Linked DNA regions of Homo sapiens: all the other regions are linked to region 1. The links are contacts of gene promoters, found by promoter capture Hi-C in blood cells and fetal thymus (Javierre and others, 2016). All regions are on one chromosome and are shown on one strand. The core of a region is centred on a gene start or on the middle of the fragment in contact, and the rest is flanking DNA. Distances in the headings are between cores, read along the strand shown. Region 1 holds the start of FBLIM1 (filamin binding LIM protein 1). Region 2 overlaps DNAJC16 (DnaJ heat shock protein family (Hsp40) member C16). Region 3 has its middle 12 kb from the start of SRARP.

Region 1 (3,038 bases), core at 86-2,585:
GCAGCTCCTGGGACTGCTGCTGTTACTGCAGCTTGGCTGAGAGGATCAAATGGGAAAAGGGGCGACAAGAGGGATGGGAGGGGCGATGATCAGTGGGTGAGGGCGGAGGCAGCCTCCTCTGACCCTCATAAACCAGCCTCCCTCAGAAACAGCCCCAGAGCCACCCTGGAGGGGTGACTGTAGCTGAGGGGTTGCAGGACGGGCCAGATCCTGTCTGGCCACCCCGCAGATGGCGCTGGGTCCAGCGCTCCTCAAGCCTCAGCCACTGTGGCTTTAATCAAAAGAACAATCTGTCTGCCTCTGAATCAGACCCAGATTCCTTTCCCCACAATGTCCCTGAGGCCTCCAGGGACCCAGGCAGTCCATCCCGGCCCCATCCCGGGCCCCAGAGTCCAGGCTCTGCCTCCCCTCCCGCTCCCGTCCTAATTGCTCCAGCTGGGAGGGGGAGGGTCACTGGATGTGGAGGGAGGGGTTCAGCCACAGGGCCAGCCGGGCCCTGCCTTCCAGAGCTCCTGGAGCGGCCTGTCCCCCGGGACACCGGGACCCACCTGCAGAGGGCTTACCGCTCAGGAGAGCAGAACAAGGTGACCTGCTCCACTGGGGGTCTCCGAGACCCCCACCCTCAGGAACACTCCCGGAAAAAGCCCCCAACCCAGCATATATTAACCACTATTAATCACAGTCCTGGCTGTAACTGTCACCTTTTATCCTCAGGCCAACCTGGAGAGGTAGGCAGTGGCTACCTCCACTTTACAGATGAAGACACTGAGGCTCAGGAGGTGGCGTGACTGCTCCGGGTCTCACGCTTAGTAAACGGCCGCAGAACCCTGGTCGGTTTGACGCAAGACCCTGGCGGATCCCAGAGCCAAAGTAAGCGCTCACCTCCGCCGGACAGGGTAGGTGGGGTTGCCAACCCAGGAGAGCGAGGGAAGGGGGACGGCAGGGACCACTCGGGGTCCATGAAGAACGCGAGGGGATGGGCAGCGGGGAGGGAAGGAAACCCACCCCGACTCCCCATTCTCCTACCCCCACTCCCCATCCCTCCCATTCCCCCATCGCCCCCATCCCCATTCCCCCCCATTCCCACCCCCTGGCCTGTGCCAAGGGGGAGGGGAGGCGTCGTCCAGGGAACAAAGGGAGGGGGAAGGGGCGGCGCGGGGCGCGGCCGGGCAGGTTGGGGGGCAGGTAGGGGCCGCTTCCGCGGGGCGGGAATCCCGCGCCCCCTCCCCCCGAGCCTCACCTTTTATGGTAAAGCGGCGCGGGGCGGCGGGGCGGAGGGAGCCGAGGGGGCGGGGAGGGCGGACGGGCGGAGGGGACGGGAGGCCCAGCGGCTCCGGGCTCCGCTGGCTCGGGCGTCGGATCGGAGCCGCCGGGGCGCGGGCGGCCCAGGTAAGCGGGCCGGGTGGGTGGGGGTCGCGTCCCTCCGTCCCTGTCCCCGGTGCACACAGGTGACAGCGCCGGCAGTGCTCGGCCGGAGCCTGCTCGGTCGCCAGCCGGGACCCCCGGCGCGGCGCCCCTGGAGGGGCCTGCGGGTGGGGGGTGCGGTCCTCACGCCCTTTGCGTCCCAGTCTCTTGGTCTCTCTCCCCGGAGTCGGGGAGTCGGCAGGTCCGGGGCGAGGGCTCAGTGAGGCCGGCGGAGGGCCGAGTCCCAGCCCGGGAGCGGGAGCCGGGGACCCGGCGCGCAGGGCGGAAGCTCCCGCACAAAAGGCCGGAGTCCCGCACATGGATCGAATTAAAGCTCCGGCGGCGCCCAGCGGTGACCCCGGCGGCCGCCCTGCTCGGCTGCCTGCGGAGGGTCCCGCGTTTCCGGAGCCCGGGGGCGCTCCAGGCCCCTTTTCCTAGCCAGGGTCAGGCAAGGGGAGGGACGGGTCCCGGGGCTGCTCCTCTCTGGGCCTCACGCGCCCGTCGGGGGCTGAGAAGGTGTGGAGATGGGCGATACCCAGGTGTGTGCCCTGGGATGATCTTGGCGTCGGCCCCTACCCCTCACCTCCCACCCAAGCCTGAGGACCCCGGGGAGAGGCTGGGGCCGCGCCCAGATTCCTGCTCTTAATGACGCTGTAGGTTCTGTCCGGGTCCTGGAGGCACCCCCAGCCGAGCCCAGCCCCCGGGCTGCTTCTCCCTCTCAGCTGCTGCCTAACCAGCTGTCCTTCTCTTTGCACCTTCCAAGGGCCTAGACCCTGAGTCTTCTTTCCTTATATATCCTCTCAGCCGCCCTAGGGACACACTCATTCTCACTTTATGAAAAAACGAGGCCAGAGAGTTTCTGTGACCTATTCGGGGTCACCCCGCAGGAAAGAAGTGGGGCCGCGTGTGAACCCAGCTCTCTACCTCCTCTGTTTCCCTGGGGTGGGAAAGAGGTTGAGGGAACCCCTCCCCTAAGTTGCAGGGTGGGAGGGGTTGGGGCACACCCCGCCACTTCTGCCTAAATTTAATTCCGTACCCAAAGGTAGACTGCTTTATCCGGTCATTAAAGAACAAAGCTGGCCGGGAGCGGTGGCTCACGCCTGTAATCCCAGCACTTTGGGAGGCCGAGGCGGGCGGATTACCTGAAGTCAGGAGTTGGAGACCAGCCTGGCCAACGTGGTGAAACCCCGTCTCTACTAAAAATACAAAAATTAGCCGGGTGTGGTGGCGCGCGCCTGTAATCCCAGCTATTCGGCGGCTGAGGCACGAGAATCGCTTGAACCCAGGAGGCGGAGGTTGCAGTGAGCCGAGATCGCACCACTGCGCAGCCTGGGCCACAGAATGAGACTCTGTCTCAAAATAAATAAATAAATAACAAAGCTTAAGCCGGGTGTAGTGGCTCAAGCCTGTAATCCCAGCACTCTGGGAGGCCGAGGAGGGCGGATCACTTGAGGTCAGGAGTTTGAGACCAGCCTGGTCAACATGGTGAAACCCTGTCTCTACCAAAAATACAAAAATTAGCCAGGGGTGGTGGCGTGTGCCTGTGGTCCCAGCTACTCAGGAGGCTGAGGCAGGACAATCGCTTGAACCTGGGAGGTGGAGGTTTCAGTGAGCTGAGATTGCGCCACTGCACT
Region 2 (2,995 bases), core at 74-2,573, 190 kb before region 1:
CTTGAAAGATCAATTTTATCTCCCTACTCCACCCCTCTGGGCTACATCTGAATTTTTCTGGCCAGAAAAAAATCAGTAAAGTTGAGGAAATAATTCCACAATGTCAGAAAATTCTTCCATGTTTACACCTTAAGTCCTTTATTATCCCTTTTATTGTTTCCTCATGCAGAACTTATTGAGCATAGCCTATTATACTGAGATACAAAATCAAACTTTTAGAATAAGCTGTCTGTGAATTAGAACACTGAGCAATCTCTACCTTCCCCTCCACCACCTCCACCCGCCAAGAAAAGCTCTGTTTGCCTGAAATTAGTAAGCGTTTATTGGTGTGAAGAGTTTTTGGTTTGGGATTTTTATTTTATCTTTTTTTAGCTGGAGAGAAGAAATTTTAACTTGAGCTAATAGTTTGTTAATTTGGTTTTAGGAGGGAAATGATGCCCCTGCTGTCCCTGATCTTCTCTGCCCTCTTCATCCTCTTCGGCACTGTCATCGTTCAGGCTTTCAGGTAAATGTCCTGTGGCTTCTCGGTGCACCACCATGGTTGGTGTTGACACTTTTTTTGTAAAACTCCTTTTTTCTTACTTTAGCGACTCTAATGATGAGCGAGAGTCAAGCCCTCCAGAAAAAGAGGAAGCCCAAGAGAAGACTGGGAAAACTGAGCCAAGCTTCACCAAAGAAAACAGCAGGTTTCTCTAACAAAACACCAGACTCACCTCCCCGGCACCTGCCCCCCAGATCCTGTCATCTGATAACGCAGCATTGGAACATAGAGTGTAGAGAAGAACTCTCATGCACCTCCTCCCATGTAAACTGTGGCTACAGGGAAAAGTCACTGTGATTTGTGTTTACTAAGACCCTGTAGGTGTTTAGATGCCTTAGATTTCATAATGAAGGCAGAAGGAAAGAAGCCTATCAGGCAAGTGTTAGGTGAGCCAGAAGCAGGACGTGGTTTATCCCTGTAAATGTCAATGAACGTAACCAGTCTTGTGCGCACACACACCCAGCAGCAAGAGGCCAGGGTCTCCGAGACAAAGAACATAGACTGAATGATAGTTGTCTTCTTCATTCTGTCCTAGAGCAACTTCTGCACCTGAAAAGCAGCATCAAGCAGGGCACAGTGGCTCACGCCTGTAATCCCAAGACTTTTAGGAGGCCTAGGTGGGAGGATTGCTTGAGCCCAGGGTTTGAGACTAGCTTAGGCAACATGGCAAGACCCTGTCTCTACAAAAAACTTATAAAATTAGCTGGATGTGGTGGCAGGCACCTGTAGTCCCAGCTACTTGGGAGGCTGAGGTAGGAGGATCACTTGAGCCCAGGAGGTCGAGGCTGCAGTGAGCCATGATCATGTCGCTGCACTCAAGCCTGGAAAACAGAGCAAGAACCTATCTCAAAAAGAAAAAGAAAAGCAGCACAGAAAGGCTGTTTGTAGGTCAGGGATTACCAAGTCAGGCCATCCCCATCCTACCAATGTGTTAGACTCAAGAATAGTGAATAACATACCTAGTCTGGTTAGAACATAGCATTTTCTTTCAGCTGTTTCTTTTCAAAGTAACGGCTTTCCCCCTATCCTGACAGCATCTTAACTCCTCAATATTTCTCCACAGCAAGATTCCTAAAAAAGGCTTTGTGGAGGTAACTGAACTCACAGATGTAACATACACCAGTAACTTGGTACGTCTGAGGCCAGGCCACATGAATGTGGTCCTCATCCTGTCGAATTCTACCAAGACCAGCCTACTACAGAAATTTGCTTTGGAGGTCTACACATTTACTGGGTAAGCATGTGTGTGTGTGCATGTATGTATGTGTGTGAGAGAGAGAGAGGCAGGCACACTGAAATTGCACGCTTTTCTCTTTGGTCTTGTGGGGCTTCATCCATACAGCAAGATGCTGGCTGTGACCTTTCCAATCCAGACATCTGAGCCATTGCGACAGGGACCTCTTTTCCCACTTCACTTCGTGTTTTGTTGGTTCTGAACAGAAAAGCTTGAACTCAGTGTTATTCCCTGAGCCCTTTCAGTTACTGTTCTCTAGCCCTTGTGTATTTTCCAGAAGAGCAATGTTAAGTTCCACCGAGCAAGCGATGGGGGAATGGGTGATTGAAGTGTCGCAGCTGCTGGAGAGGCACTGGCTCCCACAGAAGGCCTTCTTTTTCTCTGTGTTCAGGCCCCATCCAACACAAAGCGTTTTCCTATTATTTTAAGTCTCACTGGGGTATTTATTTTCTCAGCAATTAAATGTGTCAGGAAATGCCCTGAGTCCTCAATTCTCTTCTTCCTACAGGAGCAGCTGCCTACACTTCTCCTTCCTGAGTCTAGATAAACACAGAGAATGGCTAGAATACTTACTAGAATTTGCTCAAGATGCAGCTCCAATCCCAAACCAATATGATAAGCATTTCATGGAGCGTGACTACACTGGTTATGTACTGGCTCTGAATGGCCACAAGAAATACTTCTGCCTCTTCAAGCCCCAAAAGACAGTCGAAGAGGAGGAAGCCATAGGGTCGTGCAGTGATGTTGACTCTTCCCTCTACCTGGGTGAATCTCGAGGGAAACCTTCCTGTGGCCTTGGATCCAGGCCCATCAAAGGAAAGTTGAGCAAGCTCTCTTTATGGATGGAACGCCTGCTGGAGGGCTCCTTACAGAGGTTTTATATCCCATCATGGCCTGAACTAGACTGAGAGGATTTTCCAAAGAGATTTGAACTCTTCAGACTTTTTAACATGCCCCTGTGAACAGGTATTTTCAGGACTCAAACTACCACAATGAACAGAGTATAGATTTTAGATTGCTCTTCTAGAACCATGGCTAGAAGAATCTTTCCTTTGTCCTGTTCTAACCTAGGAATGAAAAACACCACCAGTTTGAATCGCCTAGATGAAAATCTTTTCCTCTGGGTGTTATTTTTCCCCACTGAATGCCACACCATTGAAAATAGACTGCTCATCCCCTCTTCCTTTCTTGTCCTTGTCCCATGCTCACCCCACCCTCCT
Region 3 (3,291 bases), core at 228-2,727, 230 kb after region 1:
CCTCATGGGGCTGGTGAGAGGGTGAGTTCTAGCCAGGGCCTGACCTGGGACGTGGGGTTCTCCATGGATTTGGAGTTGGGTTTCCTTTCCTGCCCTGGAGGAGACAGAGGCACAGGGACTGGGGCCAGTTCCCACAGAGCAGGGCTAAGGACAGTGTGTCCACCAGGAGTGCAGGGAGGGGAAGGTGTAAGGAGCCCTGGACACCGCCCAGTGTTCTGCACTTGGGGAAGGGTCTTCAGAGGGCCCTGGAAGAGGGAGGTTTTTAGGGCAGCCCAGAGGGACCTGAGCACCTCTGTTCCTCCCATCAGGACAAGGAAGGGCTATGCATTCAGGGTTCCTCATTAGGTTGGTTGCTTTGGAGCTTGATCAATGGGGTAAGGAGGCACAGGGAGACCCTGGCTCAGGGACCCTCCTTGCCCTACAGGGCCCTGCTCTTCGCCCAGGGGTCCGGTTCACCCCCAGCACATAGGAGGCACAGGCAGATATCTGCAGGACACACAAGCAAAGCCCTCTGCCCAAGAGGGGTCATCCCACGGCAGAGGCTGGGACTCAGGCCCAGCCTCATGGGCAGACTGGGCCAGGACCCACTTGGGAGGGCTCAAGGAAGCCTCAAGTCCTGGGGAAGCCCCTCTCTCCAGAAGCCACATCCCCACTGAAATGAGTGCTCCCCCATGAGGAGCTGCAAGACCTTGTCTGACCCAGCCTCCTGAAGGGGTCTGATGACCCTCATGGGAAGGGTCAGTGACTGGGGGACTGAAGCCCCAGTGGGCCCGGCTCGAGCCACCAGCCCCCAGCCTGGAAGGGCCAGGTCCTCCCACACCTGCTGTCCCCACAGATCTCTCTCGGGCTCACCCTGAGCCTTTGGGACGTGTATTTGCTAGAAGGGGAACAGGTGTTGACGCCAATGGCACGCACTGCCTTTAAGGTTCAGAGGAGTAAGTCCACGTGTGCCCAATGGGGACTGGGGAGCACAGGGGTCAGACCCTGACTGGCCCGGTGGCAGCTTCCTCACACTGTCCCCATGATCCTCTTCTCTGGCCCAGAGGGAGGTCTGGCTGGGTAGGCTGGGCAGGGAACAGTGACATACCCCCTCCTGTGGGAGCCCATCCCCTACATGACCCAGATGAAAGTCAGGAGTGTGGTGAGCACTTCCCTGCTCAGGCTGCCCCCTAGCCACAGCCTCCTGTGCACATCTGGACCCCTGGGGTGGCCACAAAGGGATCCGGCACTCCCCAGTGGGAGATGCTGAGGTAGTAACGGGGTATGGGCTCTGACCCCTCCCAGGGAACACTCCTAGCCTGATGCCTACCCTGTCCCTAGAGCACCTCGTGAAGATATCCAGGTGTGGCCGTGGGCATGTTTTCAGGACCAGTTTTCCCATACCTGGGCCCTGGATGATGATGCAGTTCTCAGACACCCTTGGGCCTCTATGAGGAAACAAGGAAGCCTGGGGACCTGCCACCCCCAGGTGGCCTGCAGCACCAGGTACCCTCCCGAGTCACCCCCTGGGGCAGTCAGTAGTTGGGGAGTGCCCAGGACCTCCAACACTACTACTTGGGCCTTCCTCTTCGCCTTTTCTTCCTCCTCTTCCTCCGGACTCTAAGAAAGTACAATAGGCCCCCAGGTCCTCAGGGCAGGTGGTCAGTTTGTGTGTACCGGACGTGCTGTGCAAGCAGGAGGGGGATGTGCGCAAGACTCTCCAACAAGCCCCCTCCCACTTTCCACCATGTCCCACTCTCCCCTTCAAAGGGCCCTCAGGGTCATTGGAGGAACCAGATCCATCTATGGGACTCCCCACCCCTCCCTGCGAGCACTGACAGCCTCAGAGAGCAGCAGAGGCTCCTCACTCCTGAACACCCCTCCAAGGGTGCCAGGACAACAAGCCTTGAGCCAGAGAGACAAGGGAATCTATGTCCCTGATCCCCGACCAGGGCGTTTAGTGGGTGGGCACAGGGGGGACCCCTGGCCCAGAGCCAGAGCCAAGAGTTCAGCCAGGTGTGGGAACGGTCAGTCCTGGCATGGACTGGGCAGCCCAGGAGGGCAGAGGGGGCTCTGTATCTGGGCTCTCTCACCCACCGTGGAAACAGGTCTCCATGTGAGGTGGCGAGGGGACTGGGTGACAGCCAAGGCCCCTCCCACCTGAGTTCTGACTGGAGGCTGTATCCCAGGCTCAACAGTCCTGGGATGACGGCATGGGGCAGGAAGCCCCCAGCCAGCCTGAACTCTGGGGGAGGGCAGTCCCAGGAGCCACCTGCTGCACCCCGACAGCTTCCCACCACAGGAGGCACAGACCCCTCCGTCTGCGATCAGCAGCCTGCAGGTGTGTCCTCAGTGTCAGACCACAGGGGCTACACAGAGACCCTGAGGACTCCAGAGACCCAGGCAGGTGGAGCCCGGCCAAGAAAGGACTGCGTGGGCTCACTGGAGATGCTGACCACGTCTGTTTCTTTCAGCCAAACCTGAGCAAGGGTCCTTGGCACCCAGGCCTGGGCTGGCTTCACCTGGCAGGAAGACCCTCTGGCAGGGGGACAGGCAGGCCCCTCCTGGCCCAACAACTCGGTTCCAGTGGCCCATTTGGCCAGCTTCCCCGCCATGGGTGGCCCGTTTGGTCAGCTTCCCCTCCATGGGTGCCTCGTCCTTTCATACCCTGTCCTGATGGGACTATCTGTGAGGCCAAGGCCCAGTGGCACGAGGGGGCTTCCATGGAACCTAGGGCAGCAGGCCATTCTCTGGGGGCACCGGGGACTGAGGGTGTGCCCAGCCTGGCCCTGGCTCAGGGGGAACCTCAGGTTTCCTGGAGGTTCCTCCAGTGGAACTCCATGCCACGGCTCCATCCCTATGAACCTGGATGTGGGGGGCCCTCGTTGCCCCCCGTTATGATTTTGAACAGAGCTGCTGGGTCCAAGTCCCTTCCAAATGTGTCCTGGACAGCCCCAGGACCATGGGACAGCCTAGCCCAGGAAGCCCATGGGGACCCCGAAACCAGGCCCTGCCCAGGCCCATCAGGACTAAAAGGGAGGTCGGGAGATACCCCGACTGCAGCGTGGCACCTGTGTCTGGCCCGCTCGGTGGTCAGTGACTGGCAAGTCTGGAAGGGGTCAGGGTGGCACCCCGCAAGCTGCACCACAGCCCCAGACACCTCGGAAAATCCCGTTCAATGGGGAAGCCAGTCCCATCAAGGCCACGAGAGAGAAAGGTGAGCATGGCATCCCCGCAGCCCCGGCCAGCCAGCAGCATGCCTGGGGCCTCTGTCCCAACCTGTGGGACAGTGTCCCCCTCCCAAGGCACAAT

Evidence for each region. Contacts are between HindIII fragments. The CHiCAGO score rates a contact against its expected background, and 5 or more counts as called.
Region 2: a fragment that was not itself captured here is called in contact with the fragment with the promoter of FBLIM1 in region 1 in 4 of 17 cell types (M2 macrophages, M0 macrophages, endothelial precursors and 1 more); the score reaches 7.3 in M2 macrophages.
Region 3: a contact is called between a fragment that was not itself captured here and the fragment with the promoter of FBLIM1 in region 1, in 3 of 17 cell types (M1 macrophages, erythroblasts and M0 macrophages). The highest score is 6.2, in M1 macrophages.

Annotation. Positions count from the first base shown.
Region 1 is chr1:15,757,460-15,760,497 of GRCh38, forward strand. FBLIM1 (filamin binding LIM protein 1) reads left to right here and starts at 1,336. Exons shown (of 9, transcript NM_017556.4): 1 at 1,336-1,389. The HindIII fragment of the contact is 4,964 bases long and covers 1-2,782 here.
Region 2 is chr1:15,565,495-15,568,489 of GRCh38, forward strand. It overlaps DNAJC16 (DnaJ heat shock protein family (Hsp40) member C16), which reads left to right. Exons shown (of 15, transcript NM_015291.4): 12 at 425-505; 13 at 588-686; 14 at 1,605-1,775; 15 at 2,284-2,995. The coding sequence ends at 2,683. Among named protein-coding and RNA genes, the nearest start is that of AGMAT, 18 kb to the right of the region's middle. The HindIII fragment of the contact is 1,321 bases long and covers 664-1,984 here.
Region 3 is chr1:15,990,843-15,994,133 of GRCh38, forward strand. No RefSeq gene overlaps it. Among named protein-coding and RNA genes, the nearest start is that of SRARP, 12 kb to the right of the region's middle. RefSeq lists an enhancer at 3,054-3,291. The HindIII fragment of the contact is 5,362 bases long and covers 1-3,291 here.